Linked DNA regions of Homo sapiens: region 1 is linked to region 2. The links are contacts of gene promoters, found by promoter capture Hi-C in blood cells and fetal thymus (Javierre and others, 2016). All regions are on one chromosome and are shown on one strand. Each heading gives the region's core, a stretch centred on a gene start or on the middle of the fragment in contact. The rest is flanking DNA. Distances are from core to core; before and after follow the strand shown. Region 1 overlaps ZNF609 (zinc finger protein 609). Region 2 holds the start of ANKDD1A (ankyrin repeat and death domain containing 1A).

The links. The method cuts DNA at HindIII sites, captures the fragments that hold promoters and counts their contacts. A CHiCAGO score of 5 or more calls a contact.
Region 1: a contact is called between a fragment that was not itself captured here and the fragment with the promoter of ANKDD1A in region 2, in 1 of 17 cell types (naive CD4 T cells). The highest score is 5.5, in naive CD4 T cells.

What each region holds. Positions count from the first base shown.
Region 1 is chr15:64,677,317-64,681,146 of GRCh38, forward strand. ZNF609 (zinc finger protein 609) reads left to right here. Exons shown (of 10, transcript NM_015042.2): 6 at 800-1,166; 7 at 2,869-3,044; 8 at 3,330-3,546. Among named protein-coding and RNA genes, the nearest start is that of OAZ2, 24 kb to the right of the region's middle. The HindIII fragment of the contact is 1,836 bases long and covers 420-2,255 here.
Region 2 is chr15:64,909,781-64,913,728 of GRCh38, forward strand. It overlaps ANKDD1A (ankyrin repeat and death domain containing 1A), which reads left to right and starts at 2,122. Exons shown (of 15, transcript NM_182703.6): 1 at 2,122-2,184. The coding sequence starts at 2,151. RefSeq lists silencers at 1,350-1,644, 1,718-1,767, 1,968-2,147 and an enhancer at 2,334-2,877. The HindIII fragment of the contact is 10,512 bases long and covers 340-3,948 here.

The DNA of each region.
Region 1 (3,830 bases), core at 88-2,587, 230 kb before region 2:
CCTCCCAAAGCACAGGGATTCATATTAATGTTTTTTAAAAAGCACTTTTATATCCATAGCAGGTGTTTTTTCCATTTGACAGGAAAGGCCCAGACAAGTTAGCTTAATTTGTCTGGGGTTACTTGAGACCTCACTAGCAGAGCCAGGATTAGAACCCAGGTATCTCGATTCCTTGTCCGTGTTTCCTCCACTGTTTGGTTCCTATGAAATGAGTTATTGATGGTCTCTCTATTTTTTAGAGTAGGTCCAAAGTATACTCAGTTACTGAGTTTCTTTAACAAGGATTTTATAGGTTGAGTTAGAACTAGGAACTTGGAATCTCATATCTTGCTCTGCTCATGAGACTTAGAATGTCTTCCCTTCCCTCTTGGTATAATAGTTATGCTTCCCTCCCTCCTCTGATCTGAGTGTCACTTATAAGCTTTCCAGTCCCTGAGCGTGCTCTGAAAAAGTGAAACAATCTAAACATATTGGAAGGGGCAGCCTCTCCTATTTCAGTCGTTTTCCCAGAATGCTTGTTCTTACCTAGAAAACATCCACTGATGCATGGATGGATTTTCCTTTTCTCCCCCTGCCCCATCTTGTTCCCTGTGGGTGGGTGCAGAGGTGGGGGCGGGGGCTTTTTAACCAAAAGGGAGCAGAGTTGGATTATAAACAAGATCAGTAGAGGCCAAAATCCTACTCTGCCCCAGGTGTCTAGTACTAATTATCTGCTCTGGTGGTTCTACTGGGACCTTGGGCTTGAAGTATATCTGTCTTATCTGTACAACACCCAGTCGTTGTTCTGTGATTGTTGTAGGAGGCAGAGCCCCGGATGTGGACATATGTTTATCCTGCCAAGTACTCAGACATCAAGTCAGAGGATGAGCGGTGGAAGGAGGAGCGGGACCGCAAATTGAAGGAGGAAAGGAGTCGGAGTAAGGACTCTGTCCCCAAGGAAGATGGGAAGGAAAGCACAAGTAGTGACTGCAAGCTGCCCACGTCAGAGGAGTCTCGCCTTGGGAGCAAGGAGCCCCGGCCAAGTGTCCATGTGCCTGTGTCCTCCCCACTTACCCAGCACCAGTCCTACATCCCCTACATGCACGGCTATTCCTACAGTCAGTCCTACGACCCCAACCACCCCAGCTACCGGAGCATGCCTGCTGTGATGATGCAGAACTACCCAGGTACAGCACCAAGTGCCAGCACTATTCCATTCACTGGAAGGGGGAATGAAGCACAGATTTCACATCCAGAGTTTTCTTGCTCAGCCCCAAGGCATATTGAGGCTCGCTTAGATGACGGACCTTTTTTCACTGAGTCATTCTGTGAGGTGGCCACCATAACCCATAGTTCCTTGAATGACCCATAATGATAGTCTGTGTGACTACCTCTCTCTCCCTTGCTCCAGCTCAAGGATTGTCTCTGTAGTCAGTTTTCATTGCTAACTAAAGGTAAAACTCCTTCTCTGTCACTGCTGTCTCCCCTCAGCTGGAATTTGTAAACCATATACTCCACGTTTTGCAGTGTGCTAGGCACTGTGGGAGGTACAAAAGAAGTAGAGCCATTGAGTTCCTTCCACTCCCGGAGCTTACAGCTTAATCATAGTGGAGAGACACAAAGAACAAATAAAATGCAAACCATAACAATGCATGGATTCAGTTGCCAGATCATGTTCACCTGTCAAGTAAGAAGAGCCATCTGAAGTCAGACTGGGGGGAGGTCCTGCTAGATTCAGCTTGGAAAAGACAAGCTCTTTATAGTGTTTAAATGTTTTTTGTTTGTTTGTTTTTTGAGACGGAATTTCACTCTTGTTGCACAGGCTAGAGTGCAGTGGCGTGATCTCGGCTCACCACAGCCTCCACCTCCTGGGTTCAAACGATTCTCCTGCCTCAGCTTCCCAAGTAGCTAGGATTACAGGCATGTGCCACCACTCCTGGCTAATTTTGTATTTTTAGTAGAGACGGTGTTCTTCCGTGTTGGTCAGGCTGGTCTTGAACTCCCGACCTCAGGTGATCCGGCTGCCTTGGCCTCCCAAAGTGCTGAGATACAGGCATGAGCCACCGCTCCGGCCTTAAATGTTTTTTAACTTGTTAGAAGAAAATGCTCTTATTTAACTCTACTCGTTTTGTTGCCCAAAGAACCATGTGGGGTGCTTCTGGGGTGGAAGGGCACTGCTTTAGCCTCACTCCTTAGAGCCTCCAGCTTCCTACAGCAGCCTAAATAGTCTCAACATTCTGGTGACATTATTATAAAGCACACTCTAAATAGAAATAAGCTTTTCAAACAGAAATAGGAAATTTCTTACCCTTGAGGTGTTCCTTTATCCCTGTCACTCACACCCATCAATATAAAAATCATAGTTGCATTTGTTGAGTGCTCGCCCTGAGCCAGGCGCTGTCCTCTGAGATTTATAGACATTATCTTTTTTAATCCTCCCTATCACCTTAAGTAATAAGTATTGATATCTTCATTTTTGATGATGAAGAAACTGAAGCTCAAAACAGTTATTTATTTGCTCAAGGTTACCAAGCTAGTAAGTCTCAGAGTAAGGTTTTGAGCCCAAGGCTCTGACTCCAGATAAGTGTGATCTTTCCACTTTATCATATCACTTCTCCAAGATGAATCTGAGACCAGTTCAAAGAACAGTATCAGATCTATGGAAGTTGGAAGCAGGAAACAGGGCCATGTTCCTAATATCCCTTAGCTAATTTTTCCTGTAGAGCTCAGTAAAGAAAGGTCAAGCCAACAGTCTCAGCCAAAGACACTATGTTAGAAAATACCTCAGCCTGTGCCTAGGAAAGCTGATGCCCACCCAATCAAGCTCACTAAAGCAGAGTTTCCTCTACCTCTCCCATCTCTTTGACTGTTTGATTTCTCCTTCCACAGGTTCCTACCTGCCTTCCAGCTACTCTTTTTCCCCATATGGCAGCAAGGTCTCAGGTGGTGAAGATGCTGACAAGGCACGAGCCAGCCCCAGTGTGACTTGTAAATCCAGCTCAGAGTCCAAAGCCCTGGACATCTTGCAGCAGCATGCCAGTCACTACAAGAGCAAGTCTCCCACGGTAAGAAAAGTACAGTGATGCTGGCTGTTACCCAAAGACTAGTAAGGCCAGATCCAGGGTCTGGGAGAAGGTGGGCAAGTTCAGGTCCTGACCACAGTGCAGCTTGGCTGACTTGACACTGGCAGCCCCCAGGGCATCTTCTTTATTCTTAGGTATCTTGCACTTTTAGGGGTCATAAGGTGGCACCCTGGGCATCTCACTTGTGTGTGTGTGTGTGTGTGTGTGTGTGGTTGTATGCATATGTGTCTCACTATAGTGCTTTTGTGTCTCTGGTTTCCTTTCCAGATAAGTGATAAAACTTCTCAGGAGAGAGATCGAGGAGGCTGTGGGGTGGTTGGGGGTGGTGGCAGCTGTAGCAGCGTCGGGGGAGCAAGTGGGGGTGAACGGAGTGTTGACCGGCCCCGCACCTCTCCTTCCCAGCGCCTGATGTCCACACACCACCACCACCACCACTTGGGGTACTCATTGCTCCCAGCACAGTACAACTTACCCTATGCAGCAGGTAAGCCTGTTTTCCCTACCACCTGTTGTTTTGTCTTGTTTTGTTTTGTTTATCTTCATCCCAGTAGTAATGTCCACAGCTAGGACCCTCCTACCTGCCTCATAAGAATCCTTTTTTAATTTTTTTTTTTTGAGCTTCTAATCTGTGCACAGTCCTAACCTCCTGCAGTCATTAAAGCATATGATATTTATTCCTCCCTTGGAGTTTGGGGACTCTTAAATTCCTCCAGAATACTGGCCTTGATAGTCAGAAGAATATGGAACAGGTGTTCCCCAAAGGCAAAG
Region 2 (3,948 bases), core at 872-3,371:
ATGGCCTGGGGCCACTGTTGGTCAGCAGGCTCAGCAGCTGGGAAGAAAAGCTGGATGTGGAGTGAAGGAGAGTGACAGCAGGCTGGAAGCCAGTGGTGCCCTCTTCATCCATCACCACAGCTGACTATGACAACCTTCAGAGACTTAACTTTGAAACATGTAAATACTTTACATAATTGTAAAGCAAAATTAACATTTAAAAATATCAAAAAACAAAAGCAAAACAAAATAAATAAACCATGCATGTTGAGTTGGTGGCATAACCACATAAAGAACTATTCCAAGTGACTAAAACAGTAACGTGACACTATGCCCCTAGTGGGATGTACATGTGACAAAAGCTTTACAAAAAACATTTAAACTGTTTTCAGGAATAATATCTTTGGCTAGGCGTGGTGGCCAAGCACTTTGGGAGACCTAGGTGGGTAGATCACCTGAGGTCAGGAGTTCGAGGCCAGCCTGGCCAACATGGTGAAACCCCCGTCTCTACTAAAAATACAAAAATCAGCCGCGTGTGGTGGCACACACCTGTAGTCCCAGCTACTTGGGAGGTTTAGGCATGAGAATCGCTTGAACCTGGGAGGCAGAGGTTGCAGTGAGCTGAGATTACGCTACTGCACTCCAGCTTGGGCAACACAGTGAGACTCTGTCTTAAAAAAAAAACAAAAACAAAAAGGGGGGGGTGCGGCGCAGTGGCTCACACCTGTAATCCCAACACTTTGGGAGGCCAAGGTAGGTGGATCACCTGAGGTCAGGAGTTCAACACCAGCCTGACCAACATAGTGAAACCCCATCTCTACTAAAAATACAAAATTATCCAGGTGTGGGGGCGAGTGCCTGTAATCCTAGCTACATGGGAGGCTGAGGCAGGAGAACTGCTTGAACCCAGGAGGCAGAGGTTGCAGTGAGCCGAGATCATACCACTGTACTCCAGCCTGGGCGAAAGAGTGAGACTCTGTCTCAGAAAAAAAAAAATCATATCTTTGATTATTATGTTGGAATTGTTATTTTGAGACCATTTTGAGGGGTTGGCTCAGGGCTCATTAATTGTTAGCTGTTATCATTATGTTATTTTTCAAAGGCCATTCCAAATACCTCCTTCTTCAGGAAGCCTTCTTGAACTATATTCTAAGGACTAATGACTGAAAGATGCTCTTCCTCCTTTGATCCCCAAAGTAGTAGTAACTACACCTATCATGGCTTTGCTGGCTTCTTGCCTTGGGATAGAGATGCCTGAGACCCCATTATCCCTAAATTCAAAGAAGCTGTAAATGCCTTTAAGGCAAAAAGGACATGGACATCCCCCAAGGGTCTGAAGTGCAACCCATTCTGGTGTATTTAATGTGTATCTTTTTGTTTCTATGTGTCTTTGCAAGTCTGTGTTGTTTGATGTAAATGCATTTGTAATATTTTTATTGATATTGTTTCCTAGGTCTTATTTGGTTTGGTTATTTACTTTTTCTGCCTAGCACTAGGTGTTTAAATCCATATTGCCACGAATACAGCGGGTCCCTTGCTTTGAGTGCTGCACAGTTTATCCATCTGCTCTTACAAGAAAGGGCGCTTAGATTGTCTCCAACTCCCAGCAACCACAGCAACACAGCAACCAACATCCTCCTACATGTCCCTTTATGGGCCTGATAAATCTTTCTGAACACTGATAAATCCGACCATCTCTTCATATGCTTGCAGACCTGCTGAGGTTGTGGTCCCTTAAACGCCAGCTCACATCTTTGGGGTTTGACTTTCTGCGCCTGAGGCGGCGGGCCCAAGGCTCAGCCCTCCTCCCCGAGTCCCGAGAGGCGCGAGGAGGATGAGCCTGCCAGATGCCTTGTGCGCATCTATCTCCAGGGCCGGGGAGGCTGGGCGAACTCCCGGGGAGGAGACTGGGTCAGGGACACCTGCGGAACTCGGCGTGGCCCCGACCCGCCGGCCTCGGGCGCGGAGGGGTGGGCAGGTTAAGAGAGCAGGAGGAGGGACCTGCGTCCTGGTCCGGGACTGGGGTGGCCGGGGCAGCTGCGCTCCTAGCAGGCGGGGCGTGGAGTCTGGAGGAGCGACCGCCCCGTCCTCTCGGCTCCCCGGGCCCCGCCCCGGCGGACGCGCGCCTCGCGCCCGGGCACCAGCGCGCGCAGGGGCTGCGGAGCGGCAGGATGCAGGAGGAGCTGGCGTGGGAGACCGACGGCCGTGAGTCTGCCTGGAGGAGGGAGGGGGGCGGGCCGAGGCCGAGAGGACCCCCGCATCCGTTTGGGGAGTGCCAGGGGTGAGGTTGGCGCCCTCCGAACGGCCACCTCCGTGTGGGGCGTCTGTGTGGCTCCGAGCGGAATGGTTACCGGTCCGCGCACTGGGCCGAGGGGACCTTGCCAGTGCGTCTGGGACTCGGGGACCACACCCGCCAGGTGAGCGGGGAGCAGCGGCTGAGAGGTTAGCTACAAATAATAAAGGTAATAGCGATCCTTGACTGCGTGCTGTACTTTGTGTGCCAGGCCTTGACCCAGGAGAGGCACGTCATTTGATCTTCGCTGCGGCCATATGGGTAGGACATTATGTTATCTTCATTTCGCAGATGAGAAACTGAGGCACAGGGTGTTCAAATGAGTTGTTCAAGGTCACACAGCCATTGAGTGGTAGAAGTGCTGAAGGGCCCAGCTCACCCGGAATGCTGGGGCTGGATAGCGAGTGGAGACCGCATCAGATGGGGCACGCACTCAGAGGAGAGGAGCCTGACTGGCCACAGGTGGAATGAGGGCACCTCCGAACCTCCCTCAAGGAGTGCGCCCAGTGCCAGGGCCTCTAGGCCGGGCAGCAGCGTCTGTGTGGGCATCAGCTGGCCTGGGGCAGCTTTGGCTGCACCGTCTGGGAGAGGGGAGAGAAAGATTGTGTCGGTGTCTGCACTGTGAGTCCTTGATCCTGCAGCCCTGGCTGAATCCTGACAGCTGAATCCCGGGGCTTTCCCTCAAAAGCGCATAGTGCAGCTCACTGGATTCCTTTGAGACCTATAGTGTCCAAAATGCTGGCACACTGCATCTACTCAGCTGAGGGATGTGTTGGGGGTGGGAATGCTCAATCAAGATTAGGTACATGGTTCTGCCTGGGGCGGAGGATCACTTGAGTGGGCCTGCGAAGAATGTGTACCAATGGAGCATTGGGGTGTGTGGCAGAGAATTCTGGACAAAGACCCAGCATGGGCAAAGGCTCAGGTAGCTCAGTGGGTATTGGATGTGGCCAGAAAGAGGGTGCCGGATGGGAGGTGGATGGAAGAGATGAGACTGGACTTGATTTCATTCTAACTTAACCTTCTCTGGCCTGACCCTATGCAGTGTCTGCTGGCTTCCCATTGGAACTCCTGGCTGTTTGCCAATACAAACCAGGCCAATCCCCCTAAGCTGCACATAAGATAGAGGGTGCCAGACAGGAAGGGACCTATACAGATCTCTTTCTTCACCCTCCCCCAGTTTTACAATGGAAGAAACAGACCTACAAGGGGGATGTGACTAGCCCAGGATCCTGCTGCTGGAAAGTGGCAGGGAAGGTACTAGAACCCAGGCCTCTGTAAGCTCACATCTGAAGTGGCAGCTCTCTTTGGCTACCAGAATTTGACCCTTTGCCTTGGAGGAATAATAGTGATGATGATGGTGGTGGTGGTGGCGGTGTGGTCATTATGTGCCAGACACTGTGCCAGGGGGTTTTCATATCTCATTTCTAATCATGATATTAACCTTGTAGGGAAGCTCGCACTCCTGTTTTGCAGATGAGGAAACTGCCTAACACAGCTAGGAAGTGGTTAAGCCAGAGTTGAACCCAGGACTGTGTGATTGCCCCCCAGGGTAGCAACTCTGAGATCCACAGGTTGTATCCATGAGGCCCCAGAAAGCTCAAGATCCTCTTTCTCATCTGGAGAAGACTGTGTGGAATTTATCTAGAAAAACAAACTGCATGGCAGGCCTGTCT